7 separate regions of the Homo sapiens genome follow, and regions 1, 3, 4, 5, 6 and 7 are each linked to region 2. The links are contacts of gene promoters, found by promoter capture Hi-C in blood cells and fetal thymus (Javierre and others, 2016). All regions are on one chromosome and are shown on one strand. The core of a region is centred on a gene start or on the middle of the fragment in contact, and the rest is flanking DNA. Distances in the headings are between cores, read along the strand shown. Region 1 has its middle 9.2 kb from the start of CCNL1. Region 2 holds the start of TIPARP (TCDD inducible poly(ADP-ribose) polymerase). Region 3 overlaps LINC00880 (long intergenic non-protein coding RNA 880). Region 4 has its middle 17 kb from the start of LINC02029. Region 5 overlaps LINC00880 (long intergenic non-protein coding RNA 880). Region 6 overlaps LOC101928236 (a long non-coding RNA gene). Region 7 overlaps LEKR1 (leucine, glutamate and lysine rich 1).

Evidence for each region. Contacts are between HindIII fragments. The CHiCAGO score rates a contact against its expected background, and 5 or more counts as called.
Region 1: a contact is called between a fragment that was not itself captured here and the fragment with the promoter of TIPARP in region 2, in 14 of 17 cell types (naive CD4 T cells, activated CD4 T cells, naive CD8 T cells and 11 more). The highest score is 15.7, in naive CD4 T cells.
Region 3: a contact is called between a fragment that was not itself captured here and the fragment with the promoter of TIPARP in region 2, in 12 of 17 cell types (naive B cells, non-activated CD4 T cells, total B cells and 9 more). The highest score is 10.9, in naive B cells.
Region 4: a contact is called between a fragment that was not itself captured here and the fragment with the promoter of TIPARP in region 2, in 15 of 17 cell types (total B cells, naive B cells, M0 macrophages and 12 more). The highest score is 23.1, in total B cells.
Region 5: a fragment that was not itself captured here is called in contact with the fragment with the promoter of TIPARP in region 2 in 12 of 17 cell types (activated CD4 T cells, total CD4 T cells, naive CD4 T cells and 9 more); the score reaches 13.3 in activated CD4 T cells.
Region 6: a contact is called between a fragment that was not itself captured here and the fragment with the promoter of TIPARP in region 2, in 9 of 17 cell types (total CD4 T cells, naive CD4 T cells, naive CD8 T cells and 6 more). The highest score is 9.2, in total CD4 T cells.
Region 7: a fragment that was not itself captured here is called in contact with the fragment with the promoter of TIPARP in region 2 in 5 of 17 cell types (naive B cells, total B cells, non-activated CD4 T cells and 2 more); the score reaches 11.1 in naive B cells.

Annotation. Positions count from the first base shown.
Region 1 is chr3:157,167,541-157,171,248 of GRCh38, forward strand. No RefSeq gene overlaps it. Among named protein-coding and RNA genes, the nearest start is that of CCNL1, 9.2 kb to the left of the region's middle. The HindIII fragment of the contact is 212 bases long and covers 1,248-1,459 here.
Region 2 is chr3:156,673,180-156,676,881 of GRCh38, forward strand. It overlaps TIPARP (TCDD inducible poly(ADP-ribose) polymerase), which reads left to right and starts at 1,411. Exons shown (of 6, transcript NM_015508.5): 1 at 1,411-1,617. TIPARP-AS1 (TIPARP antisense RNA 1) reads right to left here and starts at 2,534. Exons shown (of 1, transcript NR_027954.1): 1 at 1-2,534. RefSeq lists an enhancer at 907-1,206 and silencers at 1,617-1,666, 1,697-1,766, 2,137-2,496. The HindIII fragment of the contact is 8,735 bases long and covers 1-3,064 here.
Region 3 is chr3:157,098,377-157,101,895 of GRCh38, forward strand. The region is part of intron 3 of LINC00880 (long intergenic non-protein coding RNA 880); the gene reads right to left. LINC00881 (long intergenic non-protein coding RNA 881) reads left to right here. Exons shown (of 3, transcript NR_034008.1): 2 at 1,107-1,205; 3 at 2,310-2,759. Among named protein-coding and RNA genes, the nearest start is that of LINC00881, 10 kb to the left of the region's middle. The HindIII fragment of the contact is 353 bases long and covers 1,596-1,948 here.
Region 4 is chr3:157,063,009-157,066,647 of GRCh38, forward strand. No RefSeq gene overlaps it. Among named protein-coding and RNA genes, the nearest start is that of LINC02029, 17 kb to the right of the region's middle. RefSeq lists a silencer at 1,287-1,366 and an enhancer at 1,637-1,766. The HindIII fragment of the contact is 1,431 bases long and covers 917-2,347 here.
Region 5 is chr3:157,114,880-157,118,658 of GRCh38, forward strand. All of the region lies in intron 1 of LINC00880 (long intergenic non-protein coding RNA 880), which reads right to left. Among named protein-coding and RNA genes, the nearest start is that of LINC00880, 6.2 kb to the right of the region's middle. The HindIII fragment of the contact is 3,533 bases long and covers 496-3,779 here.
Region 6 is chr3:157,183,520-157,187,321 of GRCh38, forward strand. All of the region lies in intron 2 of LOC101928236 (a long non-coding RNA gene), which reads left to right. Among named protein-coding and RNA genes, the nearest start is that of CCNL1, 25 kb to the left of the region's middle. The HindIII fragment of the contact is 9,450 bases long and covers 1-3,802 here.
Region 7 is chr3:157,042,937-157,046,491 of GRCh38, forward strand. It overlaps LEKR1 (leucine, glutamate and lysine rich 1), which reads left to right. Exons shown (of 13, transcript NM_001004316.3): 13 at 2,404-3,193. The coding sequence ends at 2,814. Among named protein-coding and RNA genes, the nearest start is that of LINC02029, 37 kb to the right of the region's middle. The HindIII fragment of the contact is 971 bases long and covers 1,533-2,503 here.

The DNA of each region.
Region 1 (3,708 bases), core at 104-2,603, 490 kb after region 2:
AGACCAACTGGACCTGTCTGCTCACTAACAAACATGTTATTTACTTTCCCTCCTTCTATTTCTCAACCCTGCAAATTCTTACTACTCCTCCTTGTTAATCAAATCCTAGCAACTTTTTTGAGACTTGGGATGTTCTACGTTTTGCCGAAAGCCTTCCCCCACCTAATCTAACTTATGCTAATTTTCTCCTTTCTCAGAGCCTCTCCTAGCATTTATGACCTCTGGTATGTATTTTGACATGTTTCCTTACTATTAAACGTTATTACTGATCTTATCATGGGTGTATGTCTGGACAAAAATAAGACCATTTTACATTTATTTTGCATCCTCTACAGCACCTGGTAGACACTGTGTGTATGTTAAGCACATAATCAGCACCCGTGGACTGAATTTGCCCACTTGTTTCCTAGTGCCTTTCAAAGACAACCTGGTTTTGCCTTTTCTTTTCCATTCAGGAGCTAATTCTATCCTCACGTGTCTGTCCTACCAATACAGCCCTCTCTCCCTAATAGAGGGTCCAGGGCCCCCATTTATCCTGTTCTCTTTGCAGCACTTTGTAGCAGATCAGCTGTGTTTCCACATTTGTTCTTTGTTTTCTTACAGTGGGCTACTTAAATAGTCCATAACTTCTGCTCCATACAGGCACGGGCTGCAGAACAAGAGGCCTGTTGGAATTGCCATAACCAAAGAGATTGTGTATATTGTGGGGGCTGGGGAGTGGGTAGAAACTCACAGAAAGCAGTATGGTGAAGGGTTTTGGTGTCTGGTATACACGCAGGCTCTGGGACAGTTTTGGAGATAGGTCTGGAAATTGGGTATATGTGACGGAGATGTATGGCCAAAGGCAATTTCATAAACAACTATAAAGTCAACAAACCCACAAATTTGCTTTTAGAGCTAAAGTTAATATTATGCAGTTCAGTCTCTCTTTTTTACACACAAGAAAACTAAGGTCCAAAGAGGTACTTGCAAATAGTAGATAATAAATATTAGCTGATTGCAAATAATCTAATCAAGTCAGTCTTTAGACAGATTCATTCTTTATGGTATTTAATGTCAGAACGAACTAGTCTTGGTTTTAGTCAGCAATTCAAGACTAAATCATACTTGTCAGCATGATAACTAAACAGGACCCATCAAGGGAATCTGGCTTTGCTGACACCTTGATTTCAGACCAGTGAACCTGACTTAGGACATCTGACCTCCAGAACTATAAGAAAATAAATGTGTGTTGTTTTAAGCCATCAAGCTTCCTGTAACTTGTTACAGCAGCCCTAGAAAATATACAGTGACCTTAGAGATTCTTCAAGTAAAGGTAAACTTCAGTAATATCTTTATCTCAATAGCACTGGAAAATCAGATAAGCCATATTAATTATGTTTTTTAATGTTATCAGATGTGGGCCACCAGCCTTAAGCCAGAGGGAGCTTTGTAAGACAGGAACATATAAAATGATAAAAGCTTCTCTACGTACAGTTTTCCTGACTCTGATTCTGCGTGGGACAACCAGTGAAAATTGCAGGTGAAGAGAAGAAATGCGTATTTATTCCTCCACTGGGAAAAAAAATACCATCCAAAGCTACATGACTTGAGGTAAATTAATTTGCTTATTTAGGCAATTATTTAAGCTCAGTTTACTCACCAATAAAATGATAACACCTACCACAAAAAATTGTTAGCACATAAAATGATTATAGATTAATTCATGTATTTTCCAGTCCTTGGAAATGCAGATTCCCTATGTGGTGTTGGTCAATGGTTAATGCCTGTTGTTCTGGCCAGGGATTTTTGATCTGCCAGCTGTGAACAGTTTGTCTTCATTCATTCATCTTTAAATTCTTACTTATTAATTGACAACTAAGTACCAGGTTCTATTCTAGGCATTGGGAATGTTTCTTTAAAAGTTTCTAAAAAAAAAAATAAAATAAAAGGTTGGATCTCTGAGATATATTATTAAGTGAACCAAAGGAAGTTCCAACACAACATGTATAGTATGATACCTTTTGTATAACATTATGTATATATCATATAGAGATATGTATATATCTGGCCAGGCATGGTGGTATGTGCCTATAATCTTAACTACCTGGGAGGCTGAGGCTGAAGGATCTTTTGAGGTCACAGGTTTAGGCCAGCCTGGACAATATTGTGAGACCTCATTTCAAAATTTAACAAAAAAAAGAAAAAAGGAAGCAATATGTATATATTTGGAAGGCTAGATATGATGCTGCTGCCTTTGGGGAAGGTAACAAAATCATTTTGGTGAAAATTGGGGAACACAGGTAGGTGGGATGGAGGCTTTCATATTTTACTTTCTGAAGTTCTCTGTTGCAATGCTTCTCAATCTATAGTGAAGAAACACATTTGGGAAACTAGTGTGGAATGATACTTCTGTAAAAATCCAATAAAGATATTAGTAAAATGATTTTTAGTTTTTTCTTTTTTTGAGACAGGGTCTTGCTTTGTCACCCAGGCTGGAGTGCCATGGCATGATCATGGCTCACAGCAGCCTTGACCTCCCGGGCTCAAGTGATCCTCCCACCTTAGCTTCCCAAGTAGCTGGGACTACAGGGTTTGCACCACTATGCCTGGGTAATTTTTAATTTATTTTGTAGAGATGGGGTCTCACTGTGTTGCCCAGACTAGTCTCAAACTCCTGAGCCTCCCAAATTGATGAGATTACAGGCCTGAGTCACCTCATCCAGCTGAAATTTTTAAAGACATTGAAAATACAAGCCTGCATTGTTTATCATTAGATTCAACAGACATCAAATTATTCTGTCAACATGCCATAAAAGTTTCTAAACGTTTACTCTCAATTCTTCACTTACCTCGTTGAAGATGGGTAATAAGTTCAGAGTCAGGTGCCAGTCCTTGGGCCACAGGCCACTTTTTGAATGGCATTAAATATATATAAATTAATATATATGTAAATTAATATATATGTAAATTAATATATATGTATAAAAATATATTAATTTATGTCCCTGCAGACATGCCCTATATTCTACCCCTAGGATTTTCAGTTACATGAATACATAACTCCTTTTTATTTATTTAATCTTAAATCCAACTTAATGGAAAGACTGATAAAAGGAATATTGTGGTACGCTAGAATGTGGAGTCTATAGATACACACACACACATATTACACTGAACATATATGACTTATAGAATTGCCATGCCTTGAAAAAGAATTTTGACTCAGTCTGGTAATAATAGAAACAGATACAATGCACAGAAGGGGTTCAGAGGATGGAGGAATTTTTTTTGACAAGGTAACAAAAAGGAGGTAATATGTGGTCTAGGTTTTAAAGACTACATTCATAAACATTGGTCAGAAGGATAAGTGTGGAAGACCATTTTAGGCAGAGGGAAAACAGGTGCCAAGATGGGGAGGTATGAGATCGCTGGGTGCATTGAGAAATACAGTGAACATCTGTGTTTCAGCCTGCCCAGTGCCCAGTCTCCCTTCCTCAGTTCTCCCTTGAGGACCTGCAACTTCTCCATTCTCAGCAAAAGTGGTTTGGGTAGGACTAACCTCTTTCCTACTTTGTGAACTAATCTGAGTCTCCCATCGCCCTTCCCTCCCACACAGCGATTGGTTCTGAATGTCTGTCATGTCCAGAACTCTTGCTGGAACACTTGCAAGGGGAGGAGAGAGAAGTGCTTGTTCTTGCTGGGATTACTGAGAGGAGGATTTAAGCA
Region 2 (3,702 bases), core at 161-2,660:
GTCATTATATTTTGGGGGTGGTTTGAACACAGCAATAAATAACTGAAATACTACTAAAAGCATAAAGAATGTATAACAACCTAATTGTTACAAGGGAGTGGAATTAATAATCTACAAGAAGGCACAAAAGGACAGAAAAGAAACAGAACAAATGAGAAAAATAGAAAGCCAACAGTAATATGGTAAACTCAAATATTAGCTTCTAGGCAATTCTATGTATGAGTAGACACTGACCAAGATCTTGTCTCAATAAGATTTTAAATGTAAAGATTTTCATCTTTTACCTATTGTCCTCTGAATTCCGCCCATATCATTCTCACCTTAGTTTAATGGCCCTGCCTTGATGCAATTTGAAATAAGCTGCTAAGGAGATAACACCCTTAATCTATTCATTGCTGGTGCGCTTACCCAGTCTGGTTTAGAACCGTTTAACAAAGGCTTAGAATCATAATGTCTATGATTATTACCTCTTAGCTCCTAGTTTTACTGACTTCCATGTCTGGAATTACCAGCACTTCTTTTTCGTACATATGGATTATATGAACTAAATGTATTGTTTCTTCCCTCACTACTGAAAATCTATTCAATATATGGAGTTACAATTCAAAGTATTTTACAACCCAGAAAATATGGCCATTCCGTATGTGGTGTGTATTTCAGAGGTGCTCTGCAAGCTCCATGAGGACAGGCGTGAAGTTCAGGCTACATGCCTGGTACGTAATAGACGCTCTGACAGACATTTGCTGAATGAATAAGTTAGTCACTACGGCGTTTGTGGGCTTTAAAACACAAGTAAATGCGCTTCTATCGCCAAAACCTCACAGCTTCCCTTCTGCAAGGTGGCGTACAAGGCCCACGAAATAGTCGGCCGCCGCAGGTGCGCAGCCTGTCCAGCCTGTCCGGCTCGGGGCAGGCGACCTCGTCTGGTGGCAGTGGGGGAGGCAGCCGTTTGCTTCCTCACAGGGTGTGCCGGAATCAGAGGCTGGAGGCGTCTGGGGAGTAGGCAAATAAACAAAGCCAACCGCACCGAAACGGGTCGTTCCGTTTCACATCCTCCCTCGGGTGTCTGGGTCTTCTCGGAACAAAGTGACCCTCCATCTGTCCGCAGGCAGGTGGAGCCCGTCCCACGCGGCACGCGCCTTCCTTCCTCACAGCCGCGTGTAGACGCGGACCCTCAGGGACACTGCGGACGCGAGAAAGGACACGCCCCCTCGCGGGAGCATAAGTCCACCGCACAGAACTCGCGCGCCTCCCCTCGAACGAACGCGCACGCGCGCGCAGGGGGCGGGTCTTCTTCCCGACACCCACTGAGCGCCCGGCCTCCTCACCCCACCCCACCGAACTCCGGCCGCCCAGGCTCCGCCTCCGCGACGGGCCGTCGGGAGGAGGCGACCGGAAGCCACTTAAAGCAGAGATCGAGGTGACAGGCGAGCTGGCTGGACTCGGAGCGCGGTCGAGGCTTTCTGCGTTCGCGGCGGCGGAATGGCCCGTGCGCGGCTCGCCGCGTCGCGGCTCTGTGGTCCCTAGACGTCGGCTCCCGCCCTCGGCGCTGATCTCCGGCGCGGGCACTGCTTTCCACTCGGCTCCTGTCGTCCGTTCTCTCAGGCTCCCGTTCAGGTAAAGGGCTCCGGGAGGGCACTGAGGGGCTGAAGAACCCTAGCGGGGAGTGCGAGCGCCGGCCTCGCGGCTCCGGCCCCGGCCCCGGCCCCGCGCCGGCAGTGTGCGGGGCTCTCGCGGATCGGGGTGATTGATTTTGAGACTGCCCTTTGTACCGAATTCACTCGGGTCCCGTCAGCATGAAGATGGAATTGGTTTACACTTCTTAGGCACTTAGAGCCTGTGGCAGGTGTATACATCAGACCGAGGCGCCGAAGGATTTAGTTGGGGTCGCAGGCGCCTGCCCCTTCCCCGTTCGTCAGGGTGGGGGCGCGTCTATGCGGCCTCCCCCGCGGGCCGACCCCGGGTGCTCTGAGGCGCCTAGGAGCCCTTCCCAGACCCCGGGGGGGAGGGCACGGCAGCTACGGGAGCCTTCCGGCTACCCCGCGTTTCGGGCTGCAGCCCAGAAGTTTGGAAGATGTTTTCACATTAACTTTGAGAGCGCACAAGTCTTCGTCTTCCTCCCCGCCGCCGCGGGAAGCGCTCGCCGCCTTTCCCCCGCGCTTCGCGGCTCAGTTCTGCGAGCCCCCAAGACCCGTTGGACGCTCCTCGGGAGGTGAGCTGAGGGGGTAAAGAAGAATTAGAGAGAGAAGGCGCCGCGAGTAGTCTCTGGGATGCAGGGAGGCCGGGGCGGGTCGTTGGTCCGAAGGAGGCTGGACAGGAGTTGGGGGGCGCCCAGGCGCCTGCTGAGGGGAAGGCGGGGGCGGGGACGCCCGGGAACACCCGGAATTGCAGAGCCGGGCGGCGCCTCAGCTGCACTGCGCGGAGTTGGCGCGGCCCGGGACCAGGAGCTGAGCAAACCGCCGCGGCCAACAGGAGGCGTCACTCGGACCCGGGCTCGGCGCCGGGGTGTCGCGCGGCGGCGGGCGGGCAGGCTTTGGAGCGGCAGTTTTTTCGGAAAGTGCTTTTGGCCGGGAGTGCCGCAGAACCCCAGCGTCACGAGGTGAGGGGTGTCGCGGTGTGTCGCCTGCCGCTGGAGACCGGAGGATGTGTTCTTCTCATCTTTATTTTTCTGTTATGAAAACTAATTGAGGAGCTAGGTTCTAGTGGCTTTCCCCCTCCAGCCACTTCTCCAGTTCTCTGCTTCTTCCTCCCAGTTTTGTTTCCGAGTTTGATGAAAGGGCAATAATAGGAAAAGTTGCGCGCGCGCGCTTGCGTGTGTACGCGCAGACACACATATAAATAAAATCGATTTAGTGTCTATTTTACCTTGATTGGGTTTGATAGGAGTGGTTAGAGAGTGTGCGCGTGGGGAAAGCACAGGCCGGTTTGGTATGGTGGAGAGGGAATACCACAATCTGTGCCAATTGTGCCTTGAGGCAATAACACCAAATGATGAATAATAACGCCTGGCTTGGCTCCTTTCCAGTTGATTTATGTCTCATGTCAGATCCCTCCTTCTTCGTGAAGCTTTCCCTAACAATGCCAGCTTACAGTGAACTCTCCTTTTTCTGCCTTTTCCTTTTGTACTTATCATGTAAATTTAATACTTCGTTATAAACTGCTTTGTATTTTACTTTTCTGAATTTGATGGACTTCTTACACATAGATTTATGACTCTCCAATTAAATTTTTAATATTCACTTTTGGGGACACTCAGTTTTACCTTTTGTTGTTGACCCACAAACAACAAAGAACTAAGCATTTAATATGTGCTTTTCTTAACTAATTCAGCCAACAAAATATATATGGAACACCAGCTGTGTGCATTGTGGTAGCTAGGCACTTTATTGGGCACCTAGGATGCATATTTGATTAAGTCATGGGACCTTGCGTCACAGATCTCTTTCAGTTTATTGGACAAGAGAGAAGAGGATTAATTGCTCATCACCATTCCTTTCTCACCTGGCACAATCTCAGTAAATGTTTTCAAATTTCAGTTTTTTTCAAGGGGTCTGATTCTTGGAAGAAAGGACTTTTTCGTCTCTTTCAGTAGTTGATTAGGAATCTGAAATTTGGTGTGTGTTTTATATTTTTTTTTTATTTTTCTATAGTATGCCTTCATTTGCTCTTTAAAAATGTATGTATGTAACTTTTCTGAAGGCA
Region 3 (3,519 bases), core at 522-3,021, 430 kb after region 2:
CTGAGCCGATCTAACTAGAAAATGAAAGGGTGCTGCTGAGGACAGGGAGGCAGGGATGGAGGAGGCAGGTTTCCAGTGGGACCTCACCTGGCACCCCTTGAGCTGGCACCCACCTTTTCACATTTCACAGAGCATTTCTACTGACCTTTCCAAAGGGCACTGCACCTCACTGCTCCCAAATCTCTGAAAGTCAAAACGGAGGCTTTGCTCCTGCATCACTGTCTGGACCATACAAATCACCTCTTGTGACTTTGGCAACTGCTGGTCTCAGGGTTTGTATCCTAGTCATTTCTACTTCTTGGAGAATCATTTATGACATTCTAAAAGTATAGAAAACCATCTACTGAAATGTGTCAACATTAAAACATTAGTTAGCTAGAAATGATGCTCATTTAAGTTACAGAAAAAAACAACAGACAGGAAAAGACATGAGCATTTATGGGCCAGCCTCTGTACTAGCATCTCTCACACTCATGATCTCTTGTTATATTCACTGCAATACAATTTGGGAAATGGTATCATTCCCACTTTGACAGCTGAGGAAATGGACACTCAGAGAGGCTAAGTAACGGCTAAAGTCACACAATTAATAAGCAGCAAATCTAGGATGTGAATCCACGTCTGACTTCAGGGTATTTTGCAATATACCACAGTTTATGGCCTGTGGAATTCAAATGGAATTAAGAGATGACCAGTAAACATAGTTTCATTGCCAGTAAAATTCTTGACTTTGCTTTTTTATTAATTCATATTTACTAACAATGCAATTTCCAAATTACCAGCTTCGGAAGAGTTCTTAAATCATTGAAGTACTCAGGATTCATGGAGTCCTAACAATTAGGATTTGACACTGAGAGAGATGCCACCAGAGGACCCACGTGGAGCTGAGTGACTCTAATGTGAACTTTCTTTTTTGACAGTTCTCTGTAAAAATGTGGCCTATCTTGCACTGGATGGAAGACAAGGAAGAGATTCTCAGTCAAACCTGCCTGGTTTCCTCAAACTCTGTTTAATACAAATGCCAAAGTTTGACACATTCTAACCACTTTGCTTTCTTTGGCAACTCCAACTTTGACAAGAGAGTAAGAATGTCTCCTCCTTGACAGGAACAACGTGTGAAATGAAAGACCTCAGGTGCTGTATTGGCTCTTGACAGCTCTTCAGAAGAAAATACCTCCTGCCTGTTCTGTTCAGTCCTGGTGCAGGTGAGTCACTGCCTTGCCAGCCAGGCAAGTATTTTAAGAAACAAAATCTAAGCCAGAACCAGCAGAGAAATACGAGGGATGGATTAGCGCCATTAGCTTTGATGGTGTCTTGTTGTCATGGTGCTAGGAAAATCACTATCATTTACAGTCCCACTCACCAGCTGTTTTGCTAGAATTTTTGACATGAGAGGCTGGTGGCCACCCTAACACAGGCGTGGGACATGGGTGTGCACACACACGTACACCTGCAGCAGACACCCACTCTAGAGGGCTCACGTTGGTTGTCTGGGACGTGATTCAAAGGCTGTACCCATGTGTATGACAATCCTGTTTCCCGTACATCAGCTTCCAGGAAGCCAAATGACCCACCGGCTTACCCACATCGCAGGAAGCTTTGGAGCAGAGTCAGTGACTATGTGAACCTGCCTCAACCTCTGCTCCCTGGTTCAGCATTTGGCTTGGGAAAAATGACACTATTTCCTGTCTCTTAAACATTATTTCAAGGCACAGGTCTTCCACCATTCTGAGAGGCAGGGGGATCTTTGAGTTCTGCCAGGAGCTGGGGGTTAGGGGTAGGGGAATCCCGCCCAAGGGAAATGACTAGAATCTTTGTCAGGCTGTGGAACACAGGCATTTCTGGATAGGTGGCCTCCCCTGTGGCCTCTCCTGGCATCTACACTGCAAAGTCCCCTGTATCTACTGAAAGGGGTGAGGGTGGGGGCATTCATTGGTACTGGGAGGCAAGCTTTGAGTGGAAAGGAGCTTCTCTCGTGGCCCTCCAGTGAGCCACACTAGAGGAGGCCTCAGATGCATGGTGCTCCCTGCTCAGACTCACACTTGCCTGACTCCCTCCTTCGTGCTCTTCCTTCGGCTGCCCTTACCTGGGGGACTACAGTGGCTGTGGGGGTGCAGCGGGGGTTGGGGGGGGCGGCATACCTCACTACCTGGCTTTTCCCAAGTCCCTTTAATTAAGCCAAATCTTTGTATGAATGTAAAATACAAGTAGGCTTTATCCCTGGGCCCTGTGCTCCTCTGCCCCAGATTCTGACTCAAGGGCTTGGAGCAGACTTATTTTTACTAAAAGCCCAAGTGATTCGATTGCAGGTGGTCCTGGACAACACTTTGAAAAATGCTGGGGCAGAAACAAGCCAGCAAGCATATGGGATTCATCTGCTGTGAGTGATAATTTATCTAGTTTCTAAAAATAGTGTTATAGGCTGGACTGTGTCCCCTTCCTGTGCCCCGCCGCCATGCATATATGGACGCCTAGTACCTCAGAATGTGACTGTATTTGGAAACAGGGCCTTTGAAGAAGTAATTAAGTTAAAATGAGGTCATTAGGGTGGGCAGTAATACAGTATAACTGGTGTCCTTATAAGAAGAGATTAGGACACAGATGCACACAGAGGGAAGACCATATGAACACAGAGGGAGAAGACAGCCACCTGCAAGCCACAGAGAGAGCCCTTCAAAGAAACCAACCCTGCAGACAATTTGATCTCAGGTTTCTGGCCTCCAGAATTGTGAGAAAATAAATTTCTGTTGTTTAAGTCACCCAGTCTGTGGTATTTTGTTATGGCGGCGAAGCTAACGAACACAAACAGAAGGCTGATTTCACTTAATAATCATCTCAGAAGGCAGAGATTGCTTCAAACTATTGCATAAACAAGGCTGGTTTGTGAACCAAAGGACATGAGCCCCAAACCTGGAGTCGCAGAGGCAGCATGACAGCACAGACAGCACAGCTTCTGGTGTCAGGCATTCCTGCACTCAAAGTCTCAAAGAACCTTCCTCCCTAGCCTTCCACCTGAGTTACTTTAGACAAGGCAGCTGTTATTTTATTTAACAAATATATGTATACAGTGCTTACTATGTGCCAGATAATAGTCTATGCACTGTACAAATACTAAGTAATCTAATCCTCATTATAACCCTGTGATAGATACACTGAAGAGCCACAGTCCCTTATTCAAACCCTTGTTTGGAACCAGCAGTGCTTGGCATGTCAGAACTTGGGGATTTGAGAAAGATATACAGTATATGTACCATAGGCTTTATAACACCTCATGGCATCTGCAACAGCATCCTGTTATGAAACATACTAATGGTTCTAGTTTCTGTAGTGACACATATATATGTTGCATAAGTAAAGACTGTAAGTATCCTTGCGTCAACTCAAGATACAAGGATACTTTTAGTCAATGTGCTTGTTTCAGGTCAGGTTTTGCTGCCAAATGAATTATAAATCCATTTTTTCATATTTTGGAGCTTTTAACGTTTCAAAATTGTGGGCCTGTGTTATCCCCATCTTACA
Region 4 (3,639 bases), core at 382-2,881, 390 kb after region 2:
TGAGTGTCTTCTGCCTGGAGATTGTCAAGCGGCAGACCATGAGGAAAGCAAGCCTGGTCCCAGGAATGGGGTGGGGAGTTTTGGCCAAGCGTGACATGAACTAAAAAATGCTGAAAGAAACCAAAAGACAGGCTACAAACTACAATCAATGAATAGCCAGTAGGAACTTGGCAATTAAGGAAATAAATTGTAGGAAATGATTACAACACAGTCCAAGTCAACACAAAGATTTTATTTGCTTCTAGCACAATTTTAGGGCACCATTCTGAAACCTGTGTGTGACTAAAGGGATTCTGAGAAACAAAGGTTCACTGTGGGTGTAGTTAGAGCTCCTTGAGTAGCAAGCAACAGAAACTGACCTTGGCTCATCTAAATCAAAAGGGAATTTACTGGAAAAACAGCTGATCTTTCAATAGCTCAACTGGAAATCAGGTCCAGAAACTAGGAAAGAACAAACAGGAACCGGGGTGACGCCATAGGCAAGAAGCAGCACAGAATCAAGACCTAGGACCTCCTCATTGGGGTCGCTTGGCTACACAACTGTGAATCACAAATGAGCTCCAGTTGGTTTCCATCTTTTGATGACTTTGTTCAAATGTCAGATTCCAAGGAAGGAGGATCTGACCGACCTCATGTGGCTCACATGCATTACCCCAGGCCAGAGAAAGGCAGACACCCTGACTAACAACTTTCCATATGTAGAATAAGTAATTCTTAGAGGTAGGTCAGGGCACAGCCAGCCAAAACCAAAACTGTTTACCATACCATGTTACCTGGCAGGTGAGGTACACTAAGATTTAACCATTGTTAATCTCTGAGCCCAAATTAATTTCCCACATCGAACTCCTGCCTCCCCACCCCACCACACCCCACCAAAGTAGAATTCTGTGGAAGTGAAGAGACCCAGGAACTGTTAAGCTTTGATCAGACACGACTGAGAAATTCTAAATACCAGCCATCGTGTATGTGGTGCTGTGCTGGAAGTTGGTATGAATAAATAATTAAAATAAATAATCCTGCTTTAACTTGAACTGAGGTTTAGCCTTTCTCCCTCCCCACTTCTTTTTCATCTGGAGCTCTGGGCTTTGACTGATTAAAAACAACAAGGGAGCAAGTGAACTGGAAGGAGTCTTGACTGAGAGCCAAAGCCAGACTCCTGCTGCCTTCTGCTGGGCCAGAGTCCCCTCCTCCATCTGATGAGCCTAGTGCAGAAAAGAGAGCCCAAAAGATATTGCCTGGCTTTGTTTGAGAGGAATGCTAAAACCAGATCAGTACAGGGGGCAATGGGAAGCTGGCTCTCCCCAAGAGGTCTCTCCCTTGAGACAAAATCTCTCAGGCTTGTCTTTCTCTCCTGGCTTGTAGGAATCACGCCTCATCCCAGTGGCTATAACTGAAGCCATTGGCCCTGCGTGTGCTGCTTCTGGTACCCGCGAACAGAAAGAAGAAACCCAGTTCCCCTCAGGCACCCTCATCATTCAGCCAGGCAGTGATAGGAAGAAAAGGGGAACTGATAACTTTCAGGAACAGAAGCAAAGTAACACAAATCTCATGGCACTGTGGCACATGACAAGTCACAGGATCAGGGCGGGGGTTCATGCAGGAATGTAACACGGGAGATGAGCTGCCCTTGAGGACAGGGCGGTGGTCAGGAAATGGCAGACTCCACTCTTTCTGAAAAGAGGCCAGGAGTCCTGGTCTCAGGTCCTTGGGTACTGCAGAGCAGACGTCATTAGACATTTCCTTTGAGTAATCAGGACTGCAGGTAATGAATTACTCCCTTGGGAAGTGGGTTTGGGGCTGCAAAGTGGGGACAGTGATCCTACACTGATCTCCAGAGTCAACTCAGTCTTCAAGAGTACATTCTAGAAAGACTTTGGGATCTTTACATCCACAGAGCCAAGGCAAGATCCCAAGAGCTCTGGAGAATGCTCTTTCAGAGTCCCAGAGGAGTGGAGAAATGACCATTTGGTCCAGGACACTTGCTGATTTGGGAAGGGGCGGCCTTGCCAGTCTGTGGAGCCAGGGTCTGAGTAGAATCATCACAGAGTACTCTGCCCAGAAAGAGTTACAGTGGCCCCACCACATGCAGAATTTAGAAACTGCCATGCCATACAATACTAGTAAAAATATTAACAGGGTTCCAGTTTTCCCCACGATAAACACTTCAATATTTTTTTCTAAAATATCAAATCATTTCCATTTTTTCTCATTTTCTAGGGCTTTGTTTGCCTAGTCTGCTTCGGGTAACGATGTGCTAGGCATGGCCCCAGGAGGCTCCAGCAGACTTTGTTAACTGGCAAGAGGCTGCTTTTGTGCATCACAGCAGGAAGAAAGTCTACATGTGAAAAGCTTCCTGCTTGGAACATGGGGGTCAAGAGGACTTGCTCCTAAGGAGGAGAATATCTGTCCTGGGCAGGCTCTGTTCTCCCCCACAGGGCTTCTCTGGGTGGGCCCCTCAGCCCCATCTGCAGAGCGGAGGCTGAAGGACCAAGAGCAGGTCATGTGGGTCTGAGGGCACCTGGGATGAACTGTCACCCTGAGAACTATCTGTTGAACGCAGCCTTCTCTTCGGTGACACTTAGTCCCAATCTAAGGGTCTCTGGCATGGAGCGTGTCAACTCAGCATGCAAGCTCTGCTGCACCGGCCATCCCTCTTCCACAGATGCTCTTGCCTGCCTTTCCCTGTACTCAATCCCACCCTCGCTCTGTGTCCATCCCTAAACCCACTGTAGCTGGAAGTCCATTTCTCTCCTTCTATGGGGCACTTACATTCTTCTGACCTTTCACCTGTGTTGCCTACACTTAGCTTTTCCTTTTAACTTTTAATCTGTTTTGGGCTCATATCTAAAGTCTATCATATGCTCCAGAAGGCCAGGGTCATTTTTTTTTCTATTCTCTGTGTGTCCTGCACAGTCCCTAACACATAATAAGTGCTCCTCTGTGTCCCTTTTTCCTCAAAAAGCTTGCTGATAATAGCTCAATTACAGGACACATACATCACCTTCACACATTACCTAGAACAGTGGCCCTTAACCTCTTAAGAGTGACTATATTCTTAAGAATATAGTGAAAGCGACAAACCCCTCCTCAAAAAGATGCACATGGACATATATGGAAAAATTGCTTCATGCAAATTTCAGGATTTTACAGCCCCTCTGCAACCTGTTCAGCCATTGACTCTAAGCTAAGAAACACTGTTTAAACCGGTTCTTTTAACTGCACTGCGAGGTGGCTGCACAGACATTGTGGCCTGTGTTTAACAGGTGGGAAAAACTGAGGGTTGGAGATGGGGAGAGACTCCTCCAGACTGCTCTATATGGTTGATTGGTGTGGCTCCTTGCCCAGTGCCCACATCTCCTTTGATATCTATTTTGCAGATTTGCCCTGAGAAGTGCAAAATCAACACAGAAATATCTCTTCCATCAGTACCTGTGCATCAGGGCAGAAACTGTAATTCTTGTCATTCTTGCCCTTGCTATGATGTTTGGCATCTGATGAAACAGTGCCTCACAAAGTCCAGCTGCAATTCTTGCCAGGGCTGAAGCGAGTTCCTCTCCTGGTGTCAGAGGACAGCTTGCTTATTGTTGTAAATTTTTTATTTTCTCATCAGAGGCTCCCAGCTGTCTCTCCAAATCTGAA
Region 5 (3,779 bases), core at 1,012-3,511, 440 kb after region 2:
ATCTTTTTAAAAAAACATATTCGTTTAAAAAAAGTTGTTAAATTAAAATGTTAAGATAACCATGCCTTATAATTTAATTTTGTTGTCTCTCAAAGCAGCATAACTATAGTGGTCTTTTGTGCCATTCATTTTCTGGGCTTTTCCATGCAAAAGTATGTTGCAGCTTTGTCCAGTGCCTTTTTCAAGCATCTTGTGACATTTCCATCCCCCTACCTAACAGGGTGGTCGGATTTCTTTGCTGTTAAGAGGATTACTGAGACGTTCCCCTTTATATAACTCAGAAGACTCCGTAAATAACAAGAAAGAGCAAACAAGAGATGTCAAGGAGAGAGGTTACAAGCAAGGGCTGCATTTCAGAGAAGCTGGCTAAGCAAAAAGAGGTCAAAGAACTTTCTTAATTGACACTGATAAAGCTGGGGATTGAGAAGCAGTGTCCTGGGCGCCATTTTCATGGGCAAGCAGAGGGGTTAGCTTACATTCATCCATCAAGTGTTAAGCTTTAAACCCAAGAACTTCGGGTGAGTCAGGGCCAATGACCGGTAAAGGAATGAGACACCTTATCTCTAATCAACCCTGCCTCAAAATAGCTCTCTTCCTTTGGGCAGAGACTCCCAGCACACTATAGTTCAGGGAAGTGCCTGAGCCACACTTAGTCAGAAAGTCAATGAGTACGCTTTGTGTACAAAGTTAAGTTAGACCTCTCTGCGTGGAGCAAGGCATAATTTAACAACCCTCACTATGGCTTGCATCAAATCAAGATGTTCCAGCCAGGAAGGAACTTACAGTTTACCTGGACCAGCTCCTCATTTTACAGATGAATAAACTGAGACCCAGGGAGATGGATGATTTGCAAAAGAACACCAAGGGAGTCAGTGGCTGGGCTGAGGGCTGAAACCCTGCGCTAGAGCAGACATTCTCTTTCTCTTGGCAATTCTGCTATACTCATCTGAAAAATGAATGAAACACTCATGCCCCTGGTCAATTTTCCTTCCGTTGTTAAGGAAATCATTGCCAATGCTCCAATAGTTTCTAAGTCAACACATTCACAGGCAGTTTTTGTTAAACCCTTTCATTGTGAGTCTCCCAAACTTCCTCTTCTATCTTCATACTTCAGAGAGCTTTACTTTTGAGGTTCACTGTGTGGGCTGCCACTGTTGTTCCTTTCTCCACTGCTGGGAGAATGTTACAAATGGGTAATTGAAGTACTTGGGGTGTTGCTCTTAGGATGGGGTCAGACAAAAATTGACACCAGCCTCATCAGCTGTTCACCCCTAACAAGGGTTGTGACTCACAGCTCAGGGACTGCTGTTTCAGAAATGATCTGTGACATGGCACAGCTCAAACATTCCTGCCTCGATGCTTCCTACACCGCCATTTGCATACTGTGTCCCCTTTGTGCGTCCGCCACACAGTATGGGCTCTGTCCAGAGCTATCAGAGGCACATGAGGTCTAAATAGGAGTGGGGGAAAGCCTGGAGCTTGCAAAAGACTGCTGAAAACTGGGCAAAATAATAAGGATTTAGGACATGGACAGACAAAGTTCTGGAATGTGCTGTTAGAAAAATGCCTGGCCCTATCTAACTTGAAGGAGTTTTGTGTCATGTTATTACTATCCAAGACTTTGTGTCAGAGACTGAAGAGAAATAAAGCACTAAGGGACAGGACATTCAATTTTGACACCCCTTCGTTTCTCCATGATTGTCATTTCTTAAATGTTCCACTTATTTCCTCCATGAGTCAACTGGGCTGGACTTATTGCAGCTCTCAGGTGGAAACTGGTCCTAGTTGTTCTTCATGCATGAGATTTATCTCTTCTAGCTAGACTCCAAGTTACTCTATAAAAGTCTCAGGGCTTTATAATTCCCGCAAGGTTTCCTACTGAGGGCTGGACATACAGGAGGTGCTTAATAAGTGTTAAATAACCATGTCCTGCTTGGTCAGCATCACAGTTTTAAACTCACTTCATGCTAAAGTCAGGTCATGCTATTCAGGTGCTCATTGCATTCATGAGAAGGCACAAGGGCAAAGAAGAATGATCGCCCGAGGTTTATACCCAGTGAATGACAGAGCCAAGCCTCAATCCCAGGTCTTCTGAAATCAAATCCAGTTCTCACTAACTCTTCTGTCTATCATAGGATGGATAAAGAAAATAGGCTAAAGGCATTTAGGTTAAAGCTGGTGAAAAGTGAAATCGTTCATTGCTGGGGGTGGAGGGTGGGGCAGGTCTTAAAATTTTTAAAGGACAATTTAACTGTTATATCCTCAGCTTACTACATAAGTTACACAAAGACTTCCATACATTTATGTAATTGTAACAGTGTTTAACTTTTTTCTTGCAAGAGTTCCATCATAATCAATTGGTTTAGCAGAATAAAAATTGGTTTCTTTTTAGCTGAAGAACTAAAAATAGGAGGCAAATTAATATTCAGCAAATGAGATGAATCTCTATGAGGTATGGCTTTATTGTTCTGATGAACACCAACTCAATGTGGTGTTCGAAATGTCTCAGTAACACCCATATTCATGTTCAAAGATGATGTCACCAAGGAACATCCACAGGCATTCACTGAGTGCACAGCACGGTTCTGGATGGCTTTCCAGAACCATCAGCTAGCTATAGGACCTTAGGTACATACTAAAGGACCCAACGTTTTTTTAACACCAACCATGTTCCAGAAACCTTGAAAAACACTTTGCATGTTATTACATTTAACCCTTGTGACAACTTTATGATTTAAAATGAGGACCCTTAGCAGAGAGTAGTCATTAATTTACTCAAAATGACATGGCCAATAAATGGCAAAGCTGGGAGCTGTATCAGATATTAGTGACTCCAAAGCCCATATTTTTCCCACTATACCAGAGCTTCTCAATCCTAATTCATATTAGTATCACCCAAGGAGCTTTCATATTGTAATGATGCCTGGGTCTCACCTCAGACCAATTACATCAGAATATCTGAGGATCTATCCTGGATGTTTTTTTCTGGATGTCTTTTCATCACCCTAAGTGATTATACTATGCAACCAGAGTTAACAACCACTGAACTGGGTGTGCTGAGACTCAGTGCCTTCAACTGTAAAGTAGATGGAGATCTCTACTTTCTACTTCTGTAGTCACCAGAAGGCTAATTACCCTGGGGCCAATAGCTGCCTGAGAAGCCCCAATCTGCACCTAGAGTAAGCAGTTGTCACCCATACTGTCAGATATTCTCCCAACTTTCTACTTAAGTGTGGGCTATGAGTACAGCTGTTTAAACTTCCAGGAATGGGACTCTAAGATATACAATTATTTCATATATTCATATATATGTGAACCCCAAATATCTGAGACAGATCTCAGTTAATTTAGAAAGTTTATTTTGCCAAGGTTGAGGATGCATGCCCATGACACAGCCTCAGGAGGTCCTGATGACATGTGTCCAAGTTGGTCAGAACACAGCTTGGTTTTATACATTTTAGGAAGACATGAGACGTCAATCAATATATATAAGCTGTACATTGGTTCTGTCTGGAAAGGCGGCACAACTTGAAGCTGGGAGGGAGCTTCCAGGTCACAGATACTTGAGAGACAAACGGTTCATTCTTGTGAGTTTCTGATTAGCCTTTCCAAAGGAGGCAATCAGATATGCATTTATCTCAGTGAGCAGAGGGGTGACTTTGAATAGAATGGGAAGCAGGTTTGCCCTAAGCAGTTCCCAGCTTGATTATTCCCTTAGTGATTTGGGGGCCCGAAGATTTATTTTCCTTTCATATATATATATATATATATATATATAT
Region 6 (3,802 bases), core at 514-3,013, 510 kb after region 2:
CTAGTTCTTTTCACCCCACATTATATTCTCACTATTCTCTTTACCTGGTTTAAATTCCATGATCAGTCATTATAATCACTCCCTTGCATAATCTCAGCACCCAACTAAACCCACCCAGCATAATATAATTGCAGAAAGACACACAACCATGCTTCCTGGGCTCACTCTAAATGACCCCAACCTTGAGTGGACTCTTAATTCTGTGTGGCAACCACATATTTCCCTGGAACATTCACCTTCTCCTAGATAACCCTTCTGATAATAAACACACTCTCCTGGATACCTAGTTTTCATTCCTTCCCTTCTTTCTTCTGACCTCTCATACTTCTCCCATCATCACTCTGTCAGTTTCCTTAAGAAAACAGAAGTGATCTGAATAGACCTCCATGGCCCTCACCAGCTGTCCACTCACCTTCTGCACCTGGGTCTACATACTCTGCCTTCCCTGATGTTTCTGTGGGTAGACTGTCCATGATCCTAGCTAAGGGCAACCCTTTCATTTGTGCCCAATGGCTCTTCTTCTTTCATTTATTCAAGGTAATTACAGCAGCAGTTGTACCCTCCTTCTGTATTATCAATTAATATCAATTGATTTTGAGATAGGGTCTCGCCCTGTCACCCAGGCTGGTCTCAAACTCCTGGCCTCATGTGATCCACCTGCCACAGACTCCCAACTCACTCAATTGATATTAATTATATATTAATCCATATCAATCAGTTAATATCATCAGTCAATGGATTGTTCATCAATACACAATCTCTACTTTGTCTAATAAAAAATCAGGCCTCTCTTTTGATCTCTCATCTCCTCTAGTTACTGCCCCATTTTTCTGTTTTTTTTTGTTTTGTTTTGTTTGTTCACAGCCAAACACCTTGCTATGATTTGGATGTGGTTTGTTTGTGCCCTCCAAACTTCATGTTGATATTTGACCCCCAGTGTTGGAGACGTAGGCCTAATGGGAGGTGCTTGGATCTTGAAGGTAGATTCCTCATGAATAGTTTAGTGCCCTTCCTTAATGGTGAGTTCTCACTCTATTAGTTTCTGGGAGAGCTGGTTGTTCACAAGAGCCTGGCATTTTCCACCCCCTGCCCCCCATCCACTACCTTGCTTCCTCTCTGGCTGCGTGATCTCTGCACACACTGGCTCCCCTTCTGCCTTCTGCTCTGAGTGGAAGCAGCTTGAGATGCAGATGTCCAGTCTTCAATTTTCCAATCACCAGAATTGTGAGCCAAATAAAATATTTTTCTTTCTTCTTTTCTTTTTTTTTTGAGACAGGGTTTCGCTCTGTCACCCAGGCTGGAGTGCAGTGGCACCATCTCAGCTCACTGCAGCCTTGACCTCCCAGGCTCAAGTGATTCTCCCACCTCAGCCTCTCTAGTAGCTGGGATTACAGGTGCGTGCCACCATACTTGGCTAATTTCTTAATTTTTTGTAGAAAAAGGGTTTTGCTGTTATCCAGGCTGGTTTCAAAACTCCTGGACTCAAGTAATTCCCCTGCCTTGGCTTCCCAAAGTGCTTGGATTGTAGGCCTGAGCCACTGCACCCAGCCAAATTTTTTTTCTTTATAAGTTATCCGACCTCAGATTTCTTTATTGCAGCACTAAATGGAATAGACACATCTCAACATTTTCCTAATTCCTCTCTTTCCATTCTTTGTTGGACCCACTCAAACCAGGTTTCACCCTTGCTGCATCACTAGACCTGCTCCTATCAAGGTCACTGTGACTGCTCTACCATTGGTTAATTCTCACACTTTACCTTTCCCAGCCTATCAGCAGCTGTGACACAGTGGCCTCTTAATTGGCTTTTCTGCCTTTACCCATGTTGCCTGAAGTCTGTTCTCAACACAGAAGCCAAAGTGATCCTTTTAACAGCTTTATCACTGGGTCAACTCATCCCATTCATCTCCTCAATAAGTTCATACTATTAATAAAAGCCAAAATTTAAATCATGTCCTAAAACCCTCTCAGTAATTCTGGAACCTTCTCTCCTGCTGTTCTCTCATAGATTTCTCCCTTCCAAGCACATTGGCTTCCCAGCTGTTGTTCCAACACACCTGGACACACTTTTCCTTAGGTCACGTCAGTAGGGAATTTCTTCTGCCTAGAAGGCTCTCCACTCATCATTATTATCTATCCTCTCCAGCCCTCCCTCCTTCCACCCCCACCACTAGAATGCAAAACCTGTAAGGCAGGGAGGTTGGCCCTTGTTCACTGCTCTCAGTGCTTCTTCACTGCTCTCACATAATCTCAGTGCTAAGAATTATGCCCATAGTAGTCCTCATACAATGTTTGTCCAATGACCGAAAGAACTCATGTTTTGTCCTCATCCTGTACCTTCCTACTTGTGTAACCTTGGCCTGGAATGCCCTTTCTCCCATCTGGAAAGTATTCATTCCTTCAGACTTACTTTTTGGTGAAAAGTCTTTTTCTTTTTCTTCTTCCTTTTCTATTACCCATGCTGGTGATTTAAATACACTTAACCACAATTACCTTTATTATCCCTAAGAAATTTAAGATTCAAGATGGCCAACTAGATGCAGCCAGGAAGAACATCTGTCACTGAGGGACCGGGACATCAGGAAGACTGGTGCACATTTAACAGATCTTTGGAGGAAAGGCATTAAGAGTGGACAGAGGGAGGACACAGATACTGGGCTGAAGGGAGAGGAAGCTGGGAACACTGCATGGGGCTACTGCACACTAGGACTTATTCCTGGCCCCCAGTGACTCTTGGGGAAGGGATGAGTTGAATGGGCAAGGAGTGACCCACCCTTACCATGGACCTCTGGAATCCTGGCAGCCAAAGACCCCATGACCCCCATGGACACTTAAGCTGGCAAGGATAACCGTTTAGAGAGGTAGTAGGGGCAGGACTCCAGCCTGCAAGGAGCCCAGGGGGTTTGGTGCAGGAGTGTCTGAAGTGGAGCATGACCAGGGATGCCCATCTCTCAAGGCTCACCATGCTCCCCTAGGAGAGTTTAGCCTTACAGAAACTATCGGACCTGAACAGAGCAGGACAGTCTTGCCTGTGAGATGTGAGCAGTCTTATCTGAGTGCCCCACTGTCTGCTAGCCTCTTCTTGGCCTGTCCAAGTCTGCTTGCAGTGCAGCCTCAGATGCCCAACTAGGGTGCGTTTTGTGAATCCATATCATAGATCCTTTGTTGTCATACCATCAGAGAGCTCCAAAAGAGCAGCCTGTGCCGACGTGCACCAACCCACCCACACCCTCCCCTGACTGCAGCCTCCTTCGCGTCACTTTGCCTGCGCTCATTTGCCCACGTCCACTCCACACTGCTTAGCCAGCATGGTGCCTGCCCTCCTTCTCTGACATGGGTGTGCACATGTACCCCACCATGCCACTGTTGCCGACATAAGTGCATGGAGGCCAGTGGCCTTGTCCCCCACGCATTGCTGCTGCTGCCAGTAAAAACACACACATGGAGCCGATAGCGCTGTCCCCATCAGTGCCTTGTCCCTGTGCACACACCACCACCAGTGTGAATGTGTACAAAAAGGCGACTGCCCCCAAGCCTACCAGTACCCCACCTAAGCTGCTGAGCATGGACCCGCCTTGCTGCCACTGTTGTTGGCATATGCGAACAAGCATAGATCCTGCTACAACTGCCCCAAAGAAGCACTTTTGCTGGCATCACCCATTGGAGTATTGTTGCTAGTGGTCCTAACCTCCAGCAGCCAGAGGACAAAGCCAGGGGCCCGATACCAGCCCCCTAGAGTTATAGCATGCAGCCCAGAAGTGCTGAGCTGATCCTTGGTCTCCTAAAATCTTCCAGAAATGAA
Region 7 (3,555 bases), core at 768-3,267, 370 kb after region 2:
AATCCCCAGTGTTGGAGGTGGGGCCTGGTGGGAGGTGTTTGGATCATAGGGGCAGTTTCTCATGAATGGTTTAGCACCATCCTGTTGGTGCTGTTCTTGTGATACTGAATGAGTTCTCATGAGATCTGGTTGTTTAAAGTGTGTAGGGCCTCCCCCCAACTCTCTTGCTCCTGCTCCCGCCATGTAAGATGCATCATTATCCCTTTGCCTTCCACCATGACTAAAAGCTTCCTGAGGCCTCCCTAGAAGCAGAAGTGGCTAAGCTTCCTGTACAGGCTGCAGAATCATGAGCCAGTTGAATCTCTTTTCTTTATAAATTGCCCAGTCTCAGGTATTTCTTTAGAGCAATGCAAGAATGGACTAATACACCACTTTAATAACTCCAACACGTTGCCAGCTTACTCTACTAGTAGGCAAAAAATATAATGGATTGGGTCTTCCCCCCACTTTAAAAGAAACTTTGATTAATAGAACTTAGAAAACCTGGGCAAAACCAGATGAAAATGTCCTTCTGTGTTTTTTTTTTTTTTCAGTGTCCTGGGAACAAAATGGTCCCTGCATGTTTGACGTAATGAATTAGACAACTAATTTAGGCATAGGCAGCATGGAGCAGGTCTCTGAAAGTGAGCAGGGCTACTACTTCAGAGTGGAGTTACTCTCAGCAAGTTACATAACAGTGTGAGCTTCAGTGTCTTTATTCGTCAGATATAATTGTTGGGAGCAGGAAATAAGATGACACCTAACATGGTGCCTTGTTAATCTTCCTCTCTATTCCCTCCTCCCCTGCCTTTTCCACAACTGTTTCCACTAGAGTTAATGAGAACTAGGTGATAAAGCCACAAACACCATCCTTGCTCTCTCCAGTTCCTCCAAAAAATAAAAATAACTGGAAGCAAGTGATTAACCCATGATTTTTTTAAAATGTGTGTCATGTAGTAAATAAATCGTATATGTAAATGATGAGTATTTGTTTGACCCAGGAATGCAGCTTTTATAAAAAATTACTGTGCAACTGGCTAATCTGGAATTGCTCCATATTTTTCCATTTTGATTACCAAATTTGGAATTGAATAGAGTTCTGTCTATAATCATGAGAAACTCAAAAACAGGAAGATACTACTGTCCCTGGTGCTTTGTTATTTAGTTCTTCTGACAGCAGATTAGTCAGTCAACCCTTAGGGAGGATGTTTTACACTAAGAAGCAGACTTGGGAATGCCTTGGCTGTTTTTACAAACAAGGTAACCTAATGGAAATTCATTTTTGAGTTGATGAATCCTATAGCACACTCATTTTACTTGTGTTTACTTACTAGGATACTGCTTTGAATTATTTACTTTTCAGCCTCATTTTTGACATCATAAAGACATGAATGTCAGGACACTGGGGAGATCCAAGACTTAATTCTTACCATGGGACTTGAAATAATTTTGATGAATTCCATAGACAAAACATAGGTAACACCTCAACTAGAAATGCAGAATTTCAGAATTTCGAAGAGACTTAATTATCTCTAGTCCAGTCACACATTTGAAGCTTAAATTTGCTTCAGTACATCCCTGTCAAGTGAGATTCAACCCTTGAGTGTCCTCCAGATAGATCTATTAAAAAGTTCTTCCTTATTTTAATCCCCACAGTTTTCACCTTGGGTCTAGATTCTATTATGGACATAAAAGGCAGTTCTGCTCAAACCTACGAAGGTACAAACTTCTTGAGGGCAGGGACTGTATTCACTACAGCTTCTAGTAACTTGGTAAATGATTGCTGAATGAATAGAATTAGTAGCAGAAGATCTTCTCTATTTTGGGATATTATCTTACAGAATGGCAAATGAGCCTCTTATTTAAGTTCCACTGAGAAAGCATCATATGAGAACTGATTTTATTGTTTCAACGCTATAGCTGATTTTTTTATTCTTTCAATCTTATACTTCAAGCACTTTTACCTGTTTATGTTATTATAGTATACCTTCACTACAAAAGAATATATTTAATGACTCTACAGCTATTAACTATTGAGTATTACATGTGCAGAGCATACTGTCTGCGACTTGAGGCAGAGAAGTTGAAACTCCACTGAAGTTAGGTATAAGAAGTCCTGAGTTCTAACTCCAGCCGCACCACTAACATCTGAGTAACCCTGGACAGGTCACTCAGTCTCTGTAGTTCTTGACTCCTCATCTGCAAACTGCAAGGGTTGAACCAAATATTTTCTTCAACTTCTTTCCACCATCACAGATTATTTCTGTTCTTGACTTGTCTGTCCCATGAGGTAGAGTGTCATAGAGACAAAGAATACAGACCTCTGATTTCCAGTTCTGTTCTCAAATTGTATTGTCCGTAACTATCTACTTATGTACATTGTTTAAAGCTAAGTCTGCTTTCTTTTCCCCTCTCTCTTTTCAGAATACTTTTCTTCAGGAGACAGTGCGTAGAGAATGTGAAGAACGCTTTGAACTGACAGAGGCTTTGAGTCAAGCCAGAGAACAGCTCCTGGAGCTCAGTAAGCTTCGTGGAAGTTTACCATTCTCACCGTGTTCCCTCAGCAAGGGCAGCCTAACCTCCCCTGCTGCAGCAGTCAGTAATCATGGAGAGAGAAGCCTTGCAAGACTGAACTCTGAAAAAGGAATCCAAATTCCCAACCTGCGCGGGGTGTCAAAACCCACCACTTTCCCAACCTCAGATAAGCCGAAGAGGGTTAGATCAGGCGTGCCCATTCTCCCCCAGCCACATCCTCCCAGGGGTGGAGCATCTTCAGCAAATGAGACTAGACAGAGACTGGCTGCCATTCTTAGGAGAAGGCGGAGTCAGCAATGATCCAAAATGAGGAGCAGGAAGCTCCCTACAGCGTGCACGCTCTTTCAGAGAGTGCCAGGAATTCACTGTAACTGAGAATGACAATGATAAAATTATTTTCACAGATCAGGAAGGCATACCTATAGATGTATTTAACAAAAGACTGTAAAAAGCTGGAAAATTGTGAAGCCTTATTTTTCAAGAGGGTTTTGATAGAGTAACAGATCATTAAGTTGTTGGTATTCCAGAGGTCCGATTTCTATGTTTATGTTGGAATGTGCTCTATGAATATAGCCTTTTAGAGATCACAGGTAAAATTTTTCACCCATAACATCTTTTCAATTTCTTGCGCCACTACAAGCAGATATATTTCCACAAAAAAATAGATTGTTTGAGATTTGTTGGTATGTGTTCATTTGTTTGTTGAGCCGAATAGGTTAAATCGATGTAATAAGTATTCCAAACAGAAAAAAAAAGTACTTTATCTAATTAAAATTAGATAATCTCCAAAATGCTTAGTTCAGGTAGTTGCAGAGCTCATCATCATAATCAAAAACATCTTTTCCTCACCTTACAATCTAATTGGTTAATCTAATTTCTCTTTAGGCTAGCTCAGAGTTAATGATAGATAACCTTCAGGAAGACAATCTTCTCTGAGTGGCTGGGGACCTTCTAGAAAAAGAGATGGTAATGTCAATTCAAGGAAATGGTAGTTTATTTCTCAAATTATGTAGATTATTTTAGTAAACAAAGAACCTGATC